Regions from separate parts of the Homo sapiens genome. Here regions 2 and 3 are each linked to region 1. Evidence: promoter capture Hi-C in human tissues and cell types (Jung and others, 2019). All regions are on one chromosome and are shown on one strand. Each heading gives the region's core, a stretch centred on a gene start or on the middle of the fragment in contact. The rest is flanking DNA. Distances are from core to core; before and after follow the strand shown.

Evidence for each region. The method cuts DNA at HindIII sites, captures the fragments that hold promoters and counts their contacts. A contact is called where the count stands out against the background at its distance.
Region 2: a contact is called between a fragment that was not itself captured here and the fragment with the promoter of PNPLA3 in region 1, in 2 of the 25 tissues and cell types used here (IMR-90 fibroblasts and spleen).
Region 3: a fragment that was not itself captured here is called in contact with the fragment with the promoter of PNPLA3 in region 1 in 2 of the 25 tissues and cell types used here (dorsolateral prefrontal cortex and mesenchymal stem cells).

The regions. Positions count from the first base shown.
Region 1 is chr22:43,922,331-43,925,569 of GRCh38, reverse strand. It overlaps PNPLA3 (patatin like domain 3, 1-acylglycerol-3-phosphate O-acyltransferase), which reads right to left and starts at 1,765. Exons shown (of 9, transcript NM_025225.3): 1 at 1,472-1,765. The coding sequence starts at 1,658. RefSeq lists enhancers at 463-1,205, 1,206-1,950. The HindIII fragment of the contact is 10,497 bases long and covers 1-3,239 here.
Region 2 is chr22:43,260,257-43,263,495 of GRCh38, reverse strand. It overlaps SCUBE1 (signal peptide, CUB domain and EGF like domain containing 1), which reads left to right. Exons shown (of 22, transcript NM_173050.5): 5 at 651-776. It overlaps LOC124905129 (a long non-coding RNA gene), which reads right to left. Exons shown (of 2, transcript XR_007068120.1): 2 at 1-3,239. Among named protein-coding and RNA genes, the nearest start is that of SCUBE1-AS1, 14 kb to the left of the region's middle. RefSeq lists an enhancer at 1-90. The HindIII fragment of the contact is 8,212 bases long and covers 1-3,239 here.
Region 3 is chr22:43,392,283-43,395,521 of GRCh38, reverse strand. No RefSeq gene overlaps it. Among named protein-coding and RNA genes, the nearest start is that of LINC01639, 6.4 kb to the left of the region's middle. The HindIII fragment of the contact is 9,041 bases long and covers 1-3,239 here.

The sequences.
Region 1 (3,239 bases), core at 516-3,015:
CTCACCACTGAACAGTCACTCCCTGCTGGCTCTGGCAGGCAGGGCAAAGAGTCCATTGTTAAGGAAGCCCAGATAAAAGGGGGCTAATGGGGGCATAATCTCCTGCCTGGGGACGTCTGGGTGTCAATAGCTTCACAATGCTACTTGCCCCAGCCCCTGCCTACTGGCTCACAACCCCCTCCTCGCCTCCAGGACTGTGGCACACAAATTCCCAGGAAGCATACCACACCCCAGTAGTTCCAGCTAGTGAGAAACAAACCCTCCGTCTGCACCCCCACCACACACACACAGGTACCCACATGGACAAATATTTCATTAGGACAAGATTCAAATGTACGGAATCTCATTTCCAGGAGTACTGAGCCGGAGAGGGGAGGGTGGGCCTAGGTCAGTGGAAACTAGAGAAGAGGATGGGATTGGGGGGTGTCCAGGGATGCACTCCAGCCCCCAGGAAGGGTCCCAAACACTGGAGGAGGAGGAGGAGGAGGAAACAACTTTCCTCTTTCAAGGTACCCCTCCCCACTAGACTCCAGTTAGCCTGCCCTGGAGGATGCCCAGGGTTGCCCTTCTGGGAGGCTACCCAGCCCCCAGAAGGCTGGGCTGCGACCCAGAGAGCGTAGGCAGCAGGGAGCAGTGGCTCACGCCTGTAACCCCAGCATTCTGGGAGGCCGAGGTGGGCAGATCACGAGGTCAGGAGATCGAGACCATCCTGGCTAACACGGTGAAACCCCGTCTCTACTAAAAAATACAAAAAATTAGCCGGGCTTGGTGGCTGGCGCCTGTAGTCCCAGCTACTCGGGAGGCTGAGGCAGGAGAATGGCGTGAACCTGGGAGGTGGAGCTTGCAGTGAGTTGAGATCACGCCACTGCACTCCAGCCTGGGCGACTGAGCGAAACTCCGTCTCAAAAAAAAAAAAAGAAAAAAAGAAAAGAAAAGCGCAGGCGCGGGGTGTCTTGAGTCCCTCAATCCCCAGAGGGAAGGAGCCCACCGTGGGGGACCGGCCAAAGCCCCACTCTTTGTCCGGCCCAGGGCAAATCGGCCCCTCGGCAGCTCAGCCCGTCCAGCCCCTCCCGAGAGGACACAGGGGACCCGGAGTCCGCAGGGGCCAGCACTACCCTCCGCCCCGGGTCCCGCTCCCTACTCCCCGTCGCTCCGAGACGCTCCGACTCTCAGTCCGGAGGTGAGGGTCTCCCTTCATGCACGGGCGCCTGATGGGGGTAGGGGTGGGGACGCACGAGAGTCCCAGGCTTCGGCCCGGACCGCTCGGGGTTCCAACGCCCCCTTCCCGGGCCCAGGAACAGCGCCCCCGCAGGAAGCATCTGCCTCGGAGGGGGCCCTCGGGATGCACCCCGCCGTGTCCGCGTCCGATGCCCGCTCCTCCAGGGCCCCGCGACCCCTGGGGATCCCCCGCTCCCCGGCCTAGGGGGCACCCACTCCGCACGTGGAGCCCGGGCAGCGTCCCCAGACGCACCCAGCGGGATACCGGAGAGGACGCCGACGCAGTGCAACGCCCCGGCCGAAGCGCCGAACAACATGCGCGCGTCGCGGAGGAGGTGCGGGGCGTGCTCGCTCAGGCAGCGGGTCGCCCCGACGTGGTAGAAGCCCAGGAAGCCGCAGCCCGCGAAGGACAAGCTCCAGCCGCGCTCTGCGTCGTACATGGCGGCGGCGGCGGGGCGGGGGCGCGGGTTAGGATCTGGGTCGGGATCGGGAATCGGCTCGGGTCCTGATCCGCAGCAGCTCCGCCCGGCGCCCGCAAGCGCTCTCTACCCTGCCTCAGTGTCTCGGCCAGGGCATTCCCAGCGCGACGTCAGCCCCGCCCCCCTCGGACCATGCAAATGAGCCGGCGGGAGGCCCAATGAGCGGGCAGGACGCCCTCCCGGGCGGGGCTTGGAGGGGGATGGGGGTGGGGACGACGTCTGGCGGGGGATGGGGGCGGGGACCGGGTCTGGGAGGGGGATTGGGGGCGGGGGCTGGGAGGGCGATGGCGGAGGACCTGTGCGGGGGGGTCCAGCCTGGGAGCTCCCCGCAGCGACTCGAGAGAAAGCATTTTTCCAAAACTCCAGCAGACACTGCATGTCCTGGAGAGAAACGGCTTCCTTCTGTTTTCCTTGACATCTGTTAAGTCGGGGGGTGGGAGGGGAGTCGCAGTTGGTGCCCACTTGATCCTTAACATCACTTTAACACTTTATCACGTCCCTTTTGACCCGGGGAGAGCCAGCCTAAAGCAGGCACCACCACCTGAAGAGTCTACTCTCTGCGTTGTTGCAGGCTTTCTGTATGATTGCCTTCAAGTGCTGGGGATTTTTTTCATTGAATGAAAGTAACAGGAAGTGTCCATTTCAAAGTTTCCTTTGTAAGTAAAAAATGTGAATGACGGGTGCTGGGGCTGGGGTCGGGGCCCTGTAGGAACTGGGGAGTGGGGAGTGCTTTGGGAAGCTGAGGCCTGGATGATTCCTGGTCCCTTAGTCCCTTAGTCCGTTCAGGTGCGAAAACAAAACACCTTAAAGCGGAGGGGCTTACAAACAAGAGATTTATTTCTATCTTTTTCCCCCCAGGCTGGAGTGCAATGGCACGATCTTGGCCCACTGCAGCCTCTTCCTCCCGGGTTCAAGGGATTCTCCTGCCTCAGCCTCACGAGTAGCTGGGATTACAAGCATGCGCCACCATGCCTGACTAATTTTTTGTATTTTTAGTAGAGATGGGGTTTCACCATGTTGGCCAGGCTAGTCTAGAACTCCTGACCTCAAGTCATCACCCACCTCAGCCTCCCAAAATGCTGGGATTACAGGGGTGAGCCACTTCGCCTGGCTTATTTCTCTGTCTCACAGTTCTGGAGGCTGGAAAGCCCAAGTTCAAGATACCAGCAGATTTGGTCCCTGGTGAGAGGTATGGCTCGTAGAAGGTGCCATCTTGCCACATCCTCACCTCTGGGCCTCTTTGATAAGGGCACCAATCCCATTCATAAGGGTGCCACCCTCTCATCAAATCACCTTCCAAAGGCCCCCGCCTCCAAAGATCATCACCTTAAGGTGTAGGATTTCAACAGATGACCTTTAGTGGGGACACAAACATTTGGATAGTAGCATGCCCTTAGGAGATGCCTAAGAGGCCCCTTGACCTTGACCTACCCCTGGCACTGGGTGGAGCAAGCCCACAGCAGTACATGGAGCCAAGTTAGACCTTGGTCCAGAGCTCCTCACTGGAGGACCCTGGTCTGCCGGGCCATAGCGCCCCCAGCT
Region 2 (3,239 bases), core at 341-2,840, 660 kb after region 1:
TGCCTGAGCTTCCTGTGGGTGGAGGTGGAAGGCAGGTCACAGAGCTGGTGGGTTGGCAGACAGAGGCGCTTCCCTTTCATCTGCCTTGGCCTCTTGATGGACTTGTGACCTACAACCTCTCACTTGACCCCTGACCTCATAAATTCTAGAAACGCCTCACAAATCACCAGGAAGATAAACATCAACTGAGGTCAACGGAAGGGGGTATGAGCCACTCCAGGCAGACAGAGAGGGGAGATCCAGTCTGCTGGGCGGGTGGGGGGTACCCTAGAACCATGGGTGGCTCGGGAGAGGGGAGCAAATCACCCTGACACAAAAGTAGTTCTACAGACCATGCCCCACAATCTGACCTAGAGCAAGAGCTTGGTCTCCGTGGGTCACGAGGTGCCATTTACAGTGCAACTCACAGAGCAAAGCCTGAATCTAGACCCAGGCACCGTGCCCTTGCTTTCTCCCTAAGGGATATCCATGTAGATGGCTGCTGCACACACGCATATGTGTGTGTGCGCAAGTGCGTGTGTGTGCATGATACATGCAATGACAGCCCATTTGATTGTTACATATCATTGGCTATCCCCTTTCAGCCTGAAATTTTCTCTCTCCCTCTCTGCCTGGTCTTCAACCCGTCTCTTGTCTGTCTCTCTTCCCAGAGGGTATGAACTGCATGAACAAAGACCATGGCTGTGCCCACATCTGCCGGGAGACGCCCAAAGGTGGGGTGGCCTGCGACTGCAGGCCCGGCTTTGACCTTGCCCAAAACCAGAAGGACTGCACACGTAGGTAGAGGGAGACAAATGGGTCAAACGTCCCGTGCGTCTCCTGCCATTACTTTCTGGAGGGTCTGTCCAGTCTGCTGGACTTTGGCCAGGGAGGGTCCCCAGCCCCATGGGGTGGAGAGAAGGGCAGGGCCTGTGGAAGGGGCCTGATAGGGCATAAGGGACAAGGGTTGTAAACCCTAGCCTTGGGGTTTTCCGCACCAAGCACGACACCACCAGTGTAGCCCCAGGAGCTGGGCTGGATCTTATGGCAGCCCCTGAGCCTAAGCTGTCCAGCAGGAATGGTGGGGCCGTGGCACAGAGGTCTACAGGACCAGGTTTCTCGATGGGCCTGGGAAGCCCCTGGTAATGAGTAGTACAAAGAAGGAAAAGAGTATGGTTCTGAAGTGGTCCCATTCCGGGCTGTGCTGACCTTTTTTCCGGGACCAAAGATCAGAACTCTGCACACCTATAGTCCCAGCTTCTTGGGAGGCAGAAGCCAGAGGATCACTCTAGCCCGACTTTGAGTCCAGCTTGGACAATACAGCAAGACCCCATCTCTAAAATAAAATGTAAAGATCAGAACTCACAATTTGACCCCTGCAAGGCTAACTGCAGATGGTGATATTCTGGGAGATCTGGGCTGAATGAGGCCTCTGGCCAAAGACACCATTTCAGGATCTGCTTGGTGGTCTGCCTACGGGGCCCACGTGTAGTCCAGCCTCTTAATGGGGTCACCCCATTCCCCAGTAGGAGTAGGAGCCAGGAAACCAAGTAGAACGATGGCTGAACTCAGAAGCTTGGGAGCCAGTGCATCCTCCCCACAGCTACGTGGGGGAGATGGTGGGGTGGGCCTCTCCTCGTGGGAGATGAGGGCACCAGGGATACCCAAAGCGATGTCATATTTGCCCTTTTTACAAAGAGCCAAAGAAGACTGCTGGAAGCACTTTCCATCTCTGGCAAGAGACAAGTGCCTCATATCAAGCCCACATTCTAATGCAGAAAAATGCTAGGGAGAAGTGTCCAGTTCCAACTCCCAATAGAGAAGGTGGTCCTCACCCTAGCTGTGGAAATGAGAGACTGAGGCTGCCCCGCTGTCATAAAGAAAATGACCGTTCTTCCACCCATCTTTCTGTGGAGAGGACAGCTGGCCCTTGTTGGTCCATCATCCACAGTCACTGATCCTCTCAGTTGTCATCAGCTCTCCTGTGGGTGCCTTGCCATACCTTTCCCAACTCATGGTCTCCTAGAATAGTCACCAAGGCCCTGGGGACCCACGTGTACCAGATGTGATTCATCCATTCTTCAAAGTGAAGGTGCTTCCTTCTGTCCCAGGTATGGTCCAAGAGGCGGACCACCTTTCTCTGTGTTCCTGGCTCTTTCCTGTGGGGTGGCCAAGATAAGCCTGTATACTGTCACCCAGGGCAGGACCAAACGGGCAGTCTCGATTGGAAGTGCCAGCCTCCAGCCCCAGGGCTCCATCCAGGCCCCGTCTCCACACCAGATGGATTCCTTTAGCTGCAGAGAAGTCTTCTGCCCCCGGCCACCTCAGAACAGAAATGCTGACTCCAGCTTTCCCAGTCCCCCGTGTTGTGTGATCTGAGTTTCCTCACGAGAAAGGCCAAGGTCAAAAATGCATGGCGTCAGCAGGGTTGTGGATAGCCCTGGCCAGAAGGACAGTGCATTCTCTTAGGCAGAAGACAGGCCGAGGGCCTGCTCCAACTGGGCCTTGAGCCCAGTGCCAGGGAGAGGCTGCAGGTGGCCTGACTGTGGGCGGCTTGCTCCCTGACCCCATAGTACATCTGACACAAGCACTACAAGGAGGAGTTTGCTCAGAGAGCATCTTCTGAGCGCCAGCCTGGTGCGAGAGGTCAGGGACTAGGCAGGGCCCTGTGAGCAGCTAGGACACCCCCCACAACCCTCACCCCAGCTGCCCCCGCCAGGGAAGGGCTCAACCCTTGCCTGGAATATGTGCTGGCTTAAGAAACAGCAGTCCCACCCTCTCCGTGGGTGGCTGAATATCACCAAGGTATGGAGAGCCCGATGTGATTTCTGGGGCCTGAGGCCTCCCGTGAAGGGCCTGCACAGGCAGCTGCCCAGCGAGCCCAGCTTTGGCTGCTTCTGTGAGGTTAATGAGACAAGGTTGGTGAGAAGTTAGCTCTGAGGCATTCGCTCTAGTCCTTGAAGTCACTTGCATTCCAGGAAATTCCAGATCTCAAGCTGGGTTGGGGGCTGAGGCCTGGCTTAGCCAAGCAGCCTCTGTGGCTCAAGAGGACTGCAGGGCTCTGAACCAAGCTGTCATCCGTCCAGAGCCCAGGACCCACTCCAGGGCCGGAGCTAGAGGAGGTTTTCTCCATCCTTCTATCCGTCTCACCAGAGCTTGAGCTCAGACATCTCTGTGTACAAGCTGTAGACTCTCCGGTATTCGAAGGCTCGACCTTTGGGGGTCTGTGAGACGCACAAATGACTATGTGGAGGGAACAA
Region 3 (3,239 bases), core at 500-2,999, 530 kb after region 1:
CCAGGCCCTCCCTTCCAGGCTGGTGAAACTCCATGTCTGTACCAAGGTCACCTCTACTATCCACGCTGAGCGGCTGGGGTGGGAGGGAGCCACAAGGAGCCCCCTCTGCTCTCAGAGCCCCCCCCACCAGCATTCTCCTGCCCAGAATTTCCCCAAGACCCAACTCTCGTCTCGACTGCCTTAAGCCCCAGCGCTTGGCAGGATGACATATCTTGGAACAAGCAGGAAGAAGAAGGGAGGCAGAGAAAGCCCAGCAGCCTGCTGGCCAAGGCTGCCTGCGATTCAGGAGGAGCTGGGATCCAGCCTCATTCCCTCATCTGTGTGGTGAGAACCATGGCACCTAGGGGAGGCCTGGCATCCTCTCTGAGCCTCAGTTTCTTCATCTGTAAAATGAGGCTGATAACATCAGGCCCTGTGCCACAGGACTGTGGAAAAAAGTACCCAAGATGGAGTTCCAGGCAGCAGCAAGCAGGTGGTAAGCACTCAATGGAAATTAGCTGTGCCTGTTATCATTGCCCCATCCAGGTCCCCCACACCAGCTCTTACATGAGAAAGGCTTTGATGAGTGCTATAGCATGCAGCTGGCTTATGAAGAAGGGTGGATGTGGGAGCAAAAAGGCCTGGCAAAGTGGGAAGAGCCTGGTGAGGGGGTCAGGCACACATAAGCTCAAGAGCTGACTCCCTGATGTAAGAGCTGGGCCACCTTGGTCATGCTGTTTAACCTCTCTGGACCTCTTTGCAAGAATTAAATGGGAAAAGGTGCATGAAGGGGTCTAGGAGGTGTCAGCACACAGTAGAAGCTTCATTAATGTCAGTCTCATTAGCCCTTCACTCCTTGGATTTGTGAATAGTAGAGAAAAAATGCTCTTACACACCTATGCATTCTCCGTCTCCCGCCATCTCGCTCGAAACCCTGATTTGGCCAGGCCCGGTGGCTCACGCCTGTAATCCCAGCACTTTGGGAGGCCAAGGTGGGTGCATCACCTGAGGTCAGGAGTTCGAGACCAGCCTGGCCAACATGGTGAAACCCTGTCTCTACTAAAAATACAAATATTAGCCAGGTGTGGTGGTGCATGCCTGTAATCCCAGCTACTGAAGAGGCTGAGGCAGGAGAATCGCTTGAACCCAGGAGGCGGAGGTTGCAGTGAGCTGAGATTGTGCCACTGCACTCCAGCCTGGGTGACAGAGCAAGACTCTGTCTCAAAAATAAAAAAATAAAGAAACCCTGATTTGTATCATCTGCCAATTTCCATGGTGTAAATACTCCCACTATGATCGATTTCAAGCTACCACAAGCTACCAACCTAAGCAGTGTCGGGAATAGCTATGCACAGATGACTGTCATGCATGATGAGAGCCAGCTCCATGACACCACAGCTGTTCACAGCTCCCCTTCTCCACCATCCACCCCTCTTCCCAACCCACTGCTCTCCTGCCACACCCACCATGTTTCTGGTCTCACACATGCCAGGGGTGTTCCTGCCTCAGGGCCTTTGCACTGAACTGCTATGTCCTCTGCCCAGAACATTTCTCCCCTGGTTGTGACATGGCTGCCATGTCTTGCTTTCCAGATCTCACCTCAGATATCACCTCCTCCAAGAAGCCCACCCTGATCACCTTGCTAATATTGCTTCCCCACCCCACACACACCCCTACTGCTCTGAGATTTCATGATATTTTATTTCCTTCATGGCACTCGACTCGTCTTGAAAGTCTGGCACACATTTATCTGTTGTGTGTGTTTATCTGTTTACTTTCTGTCTTACCCTCTACGGGGTTGGCTCCATCAGGGTAGGGCCCCATCCCTGAGGTCCCTGCTGTGTCCTTGGTGTTTCACACAGTGCCTGACACATAGTAGGTGCTCAGGCAATATTTACGGCACAGATGAACGAACGAACAATTGAACTAGGAACGTCAGGACCCACCTGGGCTGATCTTCCCAGGCCCTGCCTGGCCCACAGCCCCTCCCCCACCACAGAGTCCCCATGCAGCGGCTCTAATTAGCAGAGGTCCCCCCCCCGCCACCCAGTCCAGCCCCCTCGACTACGGCCCCATTGTGGACCCTGTAATTGCAGAGTCTCCTGCCTTTTTCTCCCCCACCCCAATTCTCCCTCTTCAGCAGAAAGAGGCCGGCCCCATTGTGCAGCTCCTGTTGACACAGGGATGACCTCACCGGGGGCCTCCTGAGAGGGGCCCAGCAGGGGAAAGGGGAGTGGGGAATAGAGGGGTGGCAGTGGCCCGGCCCAGGCTGGGAAAGGGCTGGAGGCTGAGGCCTGGGACAAAGGGCCACAGGAGGGTGAAGCCAAGGGTTGGGGGTGGAGGAAGAAATAGAGAAAGAGAGTTTCCAGGGGTAAGACAAGGGTGCTTTTCATTAGAGGGATACTTGAGGGAGGGAAGATTTCATCCCAAGAAAGGATCCCACAGGAAGACTGGGCCTGACGGCCATGTTCTTGAGGGAGTTTTGGAGACACAGAAAGACAGACAGACCTAGGCTTAGGACCTGCCTGTCGTGAAGGCTTGGAGCAGAGACTCCCCGAGCCTGGATCTTCATCTGTAAAATGGCAAATAATAATACCTTCCACCTGGGACTGTCTTGGGGTCTCTAGTAGATCACAGAGGCCAGGTAAGGACATGGTAAAGGCTTGATGGTCATTCCTCCCCACCCACTACTGACTCCGGCACACACATACGTGTGCTGTTGTTCTCTCTCTCTCTCGTTCTCTCTCTCTCTCTCTCTCTCTCCTTTTACAGACTTTACTCATTCCTTGCTGCTTCAAGCTGCCCACCATCTGGCAAGGTCCCTACCACAGTGACCCCCGGCTGAGCCTGGGCACCTGCTGTCTCCTGCTCTGGGCTTTTGCACTTGCATGTTCATACGTGAGCCCCCAGCAGGGCCACCTGGTGTCTGTGCCTGGATCTCCGCCCCAGGACCCTGGTTATTGCTCCAGCCCTGAGCACCCCACTCCCAATCCCCCTACCTGAGGGGCCCTGGGAAGGGAGCATCTGCCCCATGACACCTGGGGAGCCCTGGGTTTGCCATCAAGTCCCTCTCCCTGGGAATGGGACAATCCCTGGGTCAGGACAGCTGCCAGATCCCAGGGAGCCCCATGCACTGGAGGGAACGGAGCGGGGCTTGGTGGGGCAGCACGTGGGCTCGAGGAAGAATGGGGTTCCTGGCCAGGCCTTCCTCCTTGTCTATGAATCACATTTAATTTTTTTTTTTTTTTTTGAGACGGAGT